Regions from separate parts of the Homo sapiens genome. Here region 1 is linked to region 2. The links are contacts of gene promoters, found by promoter capture Hi-C in human tissues and cell types (Jung and others, 2019). All regions are on one chromosome and are shown on one strand. The core of a region is centred on a gene start or on the middle of the fragment in contact, and the rest is flanking DNA. Distances in the headings are between cores, read along the strand shown.

Region 1 (4,565 bases), core at 809-3,308, 1.1 Mb after region 2:
GGGGAAGATGCACATTGGTTCTAGCAGAACTGGAAGAAAAAATTGGAGTTTGAACAAAAGCATTATTAATTTAAGAAACTGCCTGAATTTGCCTCTGGCAGTTTTCTTTGTAAACACCGTTAACACCCTGGAATGCTTGAATTGTATCTAAATGCATAGCTTAAATATGTAAAAACAGAAACCTAGGCATTACTTTTAGGCACCCAGAGAATTGTTTGCTTCTAAAACCTACCAGAACAAAATAAAACTAGCATATGAGACTTCAGAATTATGAGGGTCTAATATTTCTTATGAAATTGTTTCATAGAATATAGAATTGTTGATCTCCCTTTCCTCCCTCAAAACCAGATATAATTTACAACTGACAAAATACAGCTTTGTAATACTGCTCGTGCAGAACGTGCTTGTATTTGTATTTTTCTATAACATGAACATGGTTTAGAGGGTAAATGGCTGGAGTAAGGGATATCTTTAAGCAACAGGGTTATTTAAGTGGCCAAGTCACAGCTGAGTAACTTTGTAAATGAGCCTGGTAAAGTCAACTCCACAGAGAAGAATATTTGCATATTTATGACCTCATTCTGAAGTGGAAAGCCCCTCGCTCAGGCACCATGGTGGGAGGCATTCAGAGAAGGTAAGTTTTGGACACTAGAATCAAACAAGTTATACTTCCCAAAAGGAAAAAATATGTATGATTTTGAGTGAGGTTATTCTAATTGAAAAGCCATCCCACCATCAGCGAGTTCTCAAGTTTTCCCAAGTAATCTAGAAAGTAAACATGGGCTTGCCAGTCCTCTGGCACCTGCAATGCATTTGGGGAAATCCTGTCTGCATTTGATGTGCTTACACACCCTGGAGCCCCTCCCCTCCCCCATTTAGAAGCACGTAGAGATAGGACAGGTAAAGTAGTTGCTGCTAGCCATGAACCAACCAGTCTATGGGGCAAATTGCTAGTAAACTAGCATCTCCATGGGCCATGAGAGCTTCAAGGCTTGAATCTCTTGCCAAAGTACAGAATAATCATGACAATGACCAATATAGATGGGATCTTACAATGGGTTGGGTAAGCACTTTATATATATTGTATGATTTAATCCTCCCAACAATCTTGTTAAGCAATTTCTTATTAAATTAATAAATGATTAGCAAAGAAATAAATAATATTAAAATGACTATTATTTTCATTTTACAGATGAGGACACTAAGGCACAAAAATTATGTAATTTGCCAAAGGTAAAACAGCTAGAAAGCAACAGGAACAGGATTCAAAGTCAGTCTGTCTCCAGGATCCATAGAGTCATCACTAGTCATGGGAAGATTGGGCTTTCAAGTTTGGCACCATAGAACTGAATTCCAGCTCAGTTACTTGGGGGTCAAACATGATCCTGAGTAAGTGACTTAACCTGAAAAATGGGTACAAATCTGAACTAGGAGGATTGTCATGAAGAAGGTACTTAGTACTTAACAGGCACTCAATAAACAGTTGCTTAAGGTATGTCTCCATCAAACACACCAACAGCTCTGGATATGATCCGATATTGGAATGACATTTATGAAACTTGAGTCATTTTCCTAGCTAAATATCTGAGAGGCATAAAGTAGGATGATCGCAAACCATAAGGGAAAGAATTCTATGCATGCACACATGCAAATATACACACACTGGATTCTTATAGAACTCAGAAAACAGAAAACACTTGCTTTCTATATTCAATTATTTGCAAACCCTACCAAAAGCTGACCAAAGATCTAAACTTAATTCTGAATCTAATTTTTGTTGGGAGAGGGTCAGGAATTTATACTTTGAGTGTCAATAATATATATAAAATTTTAAACACAGAACACTTTATATACACAAATATATAAAAAATACAAAGTATGGGGTGTGCATGTGTTCGTGTGCCTACATGTGCATTCTCCTCTAGGGTGGTTTTATAACAAATGGACCTCATTGCTACAGTCCGTTTTGAAACTTTCTCTTGACTGGGCTAGAATGATCCCAAACTACCCAAAATTGATTTCACTTAGGTCCTGTGTCTCTGACATTATTAAGAAGAGATTTTTTTCCTTTCGCAAACAATTTAACAATTTTTCAAACATGGGTAATGACCTTACTTTTCCTCTTATCCTTTTACCATAGGCCTTCGTGTGACACAACTAGAAAAGCACATGAGATTATGAATGACTTTTTGCTGCCTTTCAAAGCAGGAACCATGAATTAGTATTGATTGTGCTTTCTCATCCATTTCCCACTTATTTGGTTTCTTTCTCTATGTTCTATGGGAAAGAAAAGGCTATTTTAAGAGTAGAGAAGATTGGTTGCTTCTTTTCAAAAGCCTTTTTACCTTGTTCTACTGGGTTTAAACTCAATGGATTCATCCAAAATAATTTTCTGTTCATTGGGATATTATTAAGAAGATTGCCATTATGGTAAGTTCTAATATGTATTTTTTAGCTCTGGAAGACACAAGAAGTTCCCCAGGCTGTAAATATCCCCCAGTAGTACCCTGCCACTCTAGTTTTGTTCAACATCTTCTGGTAAAATGTCCATGGAGAAAAAGAGAGTAAAATGATTTTCTGTTTGTTATTTTGATAGACAGGAACAGAGACTTGTTCAAGTCAATTAAAGAAAAGAAAGATAGAGTGGACTATCACAAAGTCATTGTAAAAATACAGGAGGATATGTAATTCAACTTTTCCCCTAAATGTACAGAAGAACCATTTGCTGCTTTCTCTGAACACTTCATTGTGTCTTTGTCCTCCTGGAAAAGTGTGGATGTGATGCAGGACAAGCAAAGCCTCAGATTGGGGCTTAGCCTGGGAGGGTTCTTGACTTTGCCCAGGAAAGAATTCAAGAGCAAAGTGGTGGTAATAGACAGCAACTTTTATTGAGGTGGTAGTATACAGCAGAGGTACTGCTTTTGAAGAACAGGGCTGATCCATAGGCAGTATGCCCAGAGTAGCAGCTCAGGTGCAGTTCTACAGTCATATTTATACCTAATTTTAATTCTACACAAATTAAAGGGTAGATTATCCAGAAATTTCTAGAAAAGAGGTGGTAACTTGTGGATCATTCGTTCATTGCCATGGAAAGGGATGGTAGCTTCTGGGTGTTACCATGGCAATGGTAAACTGACATGGCACTGTTGGGCATGTCTCATGGAGAGGTGTTTTCCTTTTCCCTGTTTAAGCCAGTCTTCAATCTGGCCTGTAGTCTAAGCCCTGCCTCCAAAGTAAAGTCCCAGCTCCTACCTCAAATGGGCCTCTTCTGTCTGAGAAGCTCCTCACTTTTCATAGCAGAGAAGGAGGCAGAGGATGTAGGCTTTACCAGCCAGGTAATTCACTGTGGCAGTCACCAGGAGTAACACATTGCAGCTAGGTCTAAGATGACTTGTAGGTGTCCTGCCTTGATCCCTGTGAAGATGGTGGTATCATTTCACTAATATAGAGATGGCAGGTCTGGAGAAGAGGAAGATGAGTTTGCATTTGCATTTGTACATGTTGACTTTGGGGCACTTAGGAAACATTTGGGTGCATTGCTGGGTTTGAATCTCATGAGGGATTTCAGCTGGAGGAACAAGTCAAGTGACCTGCCCAAGCTACATGGCTTGGTGGTGGTGGTGCTGAGACTTGAATGAAGTCAGGCTAGAGTGTGTTCTACCAGCCTGTGCTGCCCGAGTCAAGCCAATCAGTGAAATTATGAGCTGTAAAGCTGCCTTTCTGGCCCTAACCTCTTCCTCTTGCTTTCTGTTCCACTGACTCAGCTTGCATCCTTCCCATGCCTCCTAGTTTCTCCTTCTCTTTTATCTTAATTTAAACTGTGTTCAGAAAAAGATCCATGAATTATGGCCTTCCCCAGGGGGCTTGAGTCTTTAACAACAACTCACCTTGGGCAATGATCATGATGGGAATAAACATGATGATGGAAACTACAATGATGACGAGAGTAACAGGATTATTTATGGATATTATTTTTTATTTTGTCGATCCTGGGTTTTCCCCTGTACCTTTCTAAGTCTATGCAGATTGTTCTTCTATCTCAATGAATATTTGCACTGAAAGATCTGACCCTACCCAAAACTTCCATTCCTGGGTCTTTCCAAAGCAGAAACCCTTAGGGTAATGCTGCCAGATAAAATATAGAATGCCAAGTTAAATATACATTTTAGATAAATGATTTTTTTAGTGTTTGTCCCAAGAATTGCATGGAACATATTTATACTAAAAAAAAATGTTGTTAATCTGAAATTCAAATTTAATTGGGCAGAGATTTTTTTTCTTTTCTTTTCTTTTTTCTAAATCTGGAGACCCTGCTATAGGGGTGAAAGGAGAGAGACTTTGCAAATATGACATAGGAATAAATGAGGGAAAAGAAAGTAACAGGAGAGAGGGGAACCCCCAAGTCCAGGACAAATTCTGAGGGTCCCTCGGGAACTGGGTCTGAACTCACCCCTAGCACTAAAGAGAGCTTGTGGGACCTCAGTGGAGAGGGACTAAATGGTGGCCCACAGGGGTCTAGGCCCTTGGCCTTAGAGTGTGCAGCAAAGTCCCAGGACCAAGCAAGG
Region 2 (4,298 bases), core at 30-2,529:
CAAAGTGGTAGCATAAGACAGAGATGTGCATTGGAGGAAAGGGCACATAATGATTCTGAAATTCAGACCTGTGTTTGTAGAAAACGAGGTGAGCTCCGTGTTGATAATTTTGAACACATATTTTATTGTTGTAAGGATATGGGTCATTCATAATGCAAGGGGACCATCATTCCCAACTGGGAAGCTTCTAGTATCACCTAGTCCAAAAGGTCTTAAAGAGGCATTTTACCTATTTGAGGAAGGGTATCCATTATATTTTTAAAGTACATTCTCAAACCAACTGCTTTTAAAAGGGTCTTGCAGTTAAAATGACCACATAATATCCACTACGGGATAAGTGCAAGATTGGTGCAACATTGGGACAACAGACCCAGACAGGGTCTGTCCCAGGCAAATGAAAAAACATGGGCACCTATTTATGGAGGAAAAATGCCCAAGGGTTTCTAGGCGATGAGGGCTGGAGGGTTGATTTGGTAGACTCTTCAAGAAGAGGCTTCCTCTTGCCTTTTCAAGGGGGAAATAAAGATAAACTAGGGACAATGAATTTTAAGGACTTTTCAAGGGTGTGATATCTTTGCTGCTTTCATTTTGATTTTTAAAAATCCCATGTTTCCCTTTATAATTAACAAAATCCATGAATTAAAATGGGTCTTTGTGCTAATCTTTAGGGCAGCAAGAAATGAGGCTCTTGAGAAATAGTACCCCATTTTGCTATCACCTTAGATGTTGGAGAGGGAAAGAGAGGGCGAGAGAGCTGAAAGAAATCCTTCGCAAGAAAACAAAGTAAGTGGACAGAGTAGTTGGCGGGGAACATCTGGGATTATAAACACTGGGGGCAAAGACAAGACCTTGTGAAATGCCTGACATAGTATCTCACGAACCTGATGAATAAAACCATGATATCTGGGTGACCCTGGTGACAACGCTGGGAAAGGTGAGAGGAAACAGAGAGCGCTGTGTTTGAGAGTAATGTTATTGGTTCTTTAGGAACGAGACCGTGGGCTCTTAGTGACGCTGTGGGTTCCTGAGTTGTCTGGGAGTACAGGGACTGCAGCCTCGAGTCTGTCCAGCTACGATCACTTTGGAAGGCCTTCGGTGGGATGCGGGCAGAAAGCTCCCAGTGCAAAGGGCGTGCCACGAAAACCACCAGCCAGAAACCTGAGCTGGGACAGGTGCGCTCCGCCGCCGAAGCTTTCCCCGCGGCCCCTCCCACTCCCGTCCCAGGCCCGCCCACATCCCTGTCCGGGACTTAAGTCCGGCACCGCCGCCCTCTCCCCCGCCCCGCCGCGCTAGAGCCTGGGGTCTCGGCAACTTCCGGCGGCGGGAGCTGCAGAGCGCAAGGCGCGCCCACTGCGCGTGCGCTTCGGCCCGGCTCCTCCTGCGCCCCCGGCCCCTGCGACTGGGACTTGGTACGGCCGGGCGGTTGGCGTCCTCTGCGGCTCCTGCCAGGGGCGGGCTTTTCAAATCTTCCCTTTGAAGGAGTGGCGACGGCCCGGACAGTTCGCGTTGGAGATGGAGGGGCCGAGCCTGAGGGGTCCTGCGCTCCGCCTGGCGGGGCTTCCCACCCAGCAGGTGAGTTGCGGGAGGGACCCTGCCGCGGAAGGTGAGGGAGCCGGGGTTCTGTTCCTCGCGCATTTGCTTTGTGGAGGAGTCGGGAAAGCCTCTCCCCCGCTCCTCTATTTCAGCGGTGGCCAGAAACAAAGGGAGGGATTAGGAGACTGCGCTCTTGGGGCTCTAAAGGGCCTGGACATCGGAACCCCCGAGTTTCTCAGGCAGCTGAGGTCCGGATTGGGAAGGCGGTGCCGGGGTCCAGGCGCGCGTTTGCGGGCGCACCTGTCCGCTGCCCTCCCCAGGCTTTGGACGCCTGTCTTTTTGCAGGTGTAGGTGATGCCGGGGAAATGGGAGCCCCTCGATTCCCAAGAAACCCAGCGAGGCCAGTGGACAGCTGGCTTATTACGGATTTAATGGGAAGCACAGTAATGGAGCGATGTCTACACACAACACAGAACTGGTTGGGGGGAGGGGGTTCGGAGCGGAGTAGAGGCAAACAGCAACCTCTGCACTTTAGAAAAAGTTGAAGGTTTGATACTGGGTTCTTTCTCAAATCATTTGAAAGGAAAGAGGGAGTACACGTGACATTGGATAGAAGTTTGATGTTTGCTTTTGAGCCATGTAAAATGCGTTAGAAACCTTTTTATTTTACTTTTTACTAAACCAACATTATTTCTTGGCAGCATCAGTTATTAAAATGTTACCACTTTTCACTCTTAACCATAACTTTAGGGTCTTAAAAGAAAACTCTGATGTCTTTAAGCTGGACCTTCACTTCTATTTTAATCTCTACCTTCTTTTACCTACTTCAGAAATAGGTTAAGCCATATGAAATTGCCAGTTTTGTAGGTCAAAATTGGTAGAATATTTGCAATTTCATTCATATGGAGGCACCTGATATCTTTGTTTAAAAATCTGGGATTTCCTTAGCAGACACAAAATTATTAGTTTTCAATAATACTGTGAAAAATAAAGCAAGACATTAAGATTCATTATGCAAAAGAAGTCCAGTGTCTTTATCAGTAATACTTATGCTGTTTTATGCCAGCATTTTCAAAAATTTCAAAGATTTTGATGTACTTTTTTTCAGTCCTGTCCTGTTATGTACTTTGGCTGTCCTGATTGCTAACAAAATCTTGATTTATAGTGAATTGCCATTCTATTGATGTTCTTGCACCTATCATATAGGTGTAGGTGTAGCTGTCCAGGTGTATTTATTGAGCTGCAGGCTGCAAGAATAGGAATGGTACAGAAGCGACAAGAGGATAAAATCATGAAGTTTAGTTGCATGGAATGAAAATAAATGTTTAAATATACATAAAGCCTGGGTTATTTACATGTGGGAAGATACAATACTTAATTTCTTAGGCAGGACAAAATCAAAATGATTGAAATGTGGAATTACTTCCTCAGTTTGGATTTGAAGAAAAAACACAAAATAGTAGTAGGTTGCAACCTAACAGGAATATTGAGAGTCAGATAATTTTATACTTGACTAACACTGAATTTTTATTTGGTATTTCCTTTGATACATGAATGAAGCTGCCACGTAATCGAGATAAGGCCAAAGATTTTGAGGTGGTCACACACTGGTCAAACACCTCTGCTGAAACCCTGGAGTCCTCTGCGACTCCTCACAGCATAGAGTATTGGCTTTGGAGTCAGATTCAGGTCAAACCAAACTCTTCTTGTTGTGCAACCTTGAATAAGTTATCTCTGTTTTCTAAGTTTCAGTTTCCACCGTTGTAGCTTGGGTATTCCGCCTATCCCAGACAGCTGTTGGAATTGGAGAACCTCTCTAAAGTACTTATCACAGCACCTAGCACTCAGGATGTGCTTCAGAGATGACTATTGTTGTTATTATCCTTTGTCCTATTCATCTGAGTGGTTAGGGCAGTCCCCTACTTTTCTTACAAATGTTTAAGCTTTTGGCATCTTAATAAAAATAAAATTCAAAAAGTAATACTATCTCATTGCAGAAAAGTCAACATATACAGAAACATGAATTTAAGAATTCGGTCTCCAGTTCCATTCCCCAGAATGGCCGCTGTTAACAATTTCCAGACTTTTTTCTGTACATAAACAATTCTTAAAATCCACACAGTTTCTTTTAGCAAAATGAGAACGTACTGTATTTACTCTTTTCTTCTTCACCTTGGTCTTTGTTAACATGGCTTAACTATATCCATTAGGTGAATCATAGTTTCTGTCTTGATTACTGCGGTTGTCTTACCGGGAGTTCAACTTCAGGTTTTTTTAGTCAGTTTTTAATACCAACAATAAAGCCATTTTCTTTGCACTTCCTTCATGCTAGGCTAGCTCTTAAAACCTAGTAGGTTTCTGTTTCCTACTTAACCTAAATTTCTGTTTTTAAGGTATGCTCCTATTTCATTCATAGCCTTGTCCATATATTTTTATCAGCCTGACTTTAACTACTTATAGCGTCAGGACAGTGACACAGGCTTCTGTTTGACTTGATTAGAGGCAAGCCCTTACTCAGAAAATTGGAAAAGAAATAAGAGTATGATGGCCTTACCTCATTCTCTGCTGTTCCTGGAGACTGGCATTCAAACAATCCTAAAAGGAATGGTTACAGAGAGACCAGCTTTTGTCTTTGGTCCTAATCAGCCTTGACTCTACCTGGCCAAGCCATTATGGCTGAGGGAGCGACACTGATGATTTTCCATTCCCTACTCATCTTCTTTGAGGTTAATAAACATCACTATTGAATGCCCAATCGGTACCCT

Evidence for each region. Contacts are between HindIII fragments. The study calls those that stand out against the background at their distance.
Region 1: a contact is called between a fragment that was not itself captured here and the fragment with the promoter of RTKN2 in region 2, in 1 of the 25 tissues and cell types used here (lymphoblastoid cells).

What each region holds. Positions count from the first base shown.
Region 1 is chr10:61,131,631-61,136,195 of GRCh38, reverse strand. No RefSeq gene overlaps it. Among named protein-coding and RNA genes, the nearest start is that of LINC00845, 120 kb to the right of the region's middle. RefSeq lists enhancers at 1-25, 448-677. The HindIII fragment of the contact is 9,997 bases long and covers 1-4,565 here.
Region 2 is chr10:62,265,825-62,270,122 of GRCh38, reverse strand. RTKN2 (rhotekin 2) reads left to right here and starts at 1,279. Exons shown (of 12, transcript NM_145307.4): 1 at 1,279-1,572. The coding sequence starts at 1,513. The region is part of intron 1 of LINC02621 (long intergenic non-protein coding RNA 2621); the gene reads right to left. RefSeq lists a silencer at 1,198-1,527. The HindIII fragment of the contact is 3,580 bases long and covers 689-4,268 here.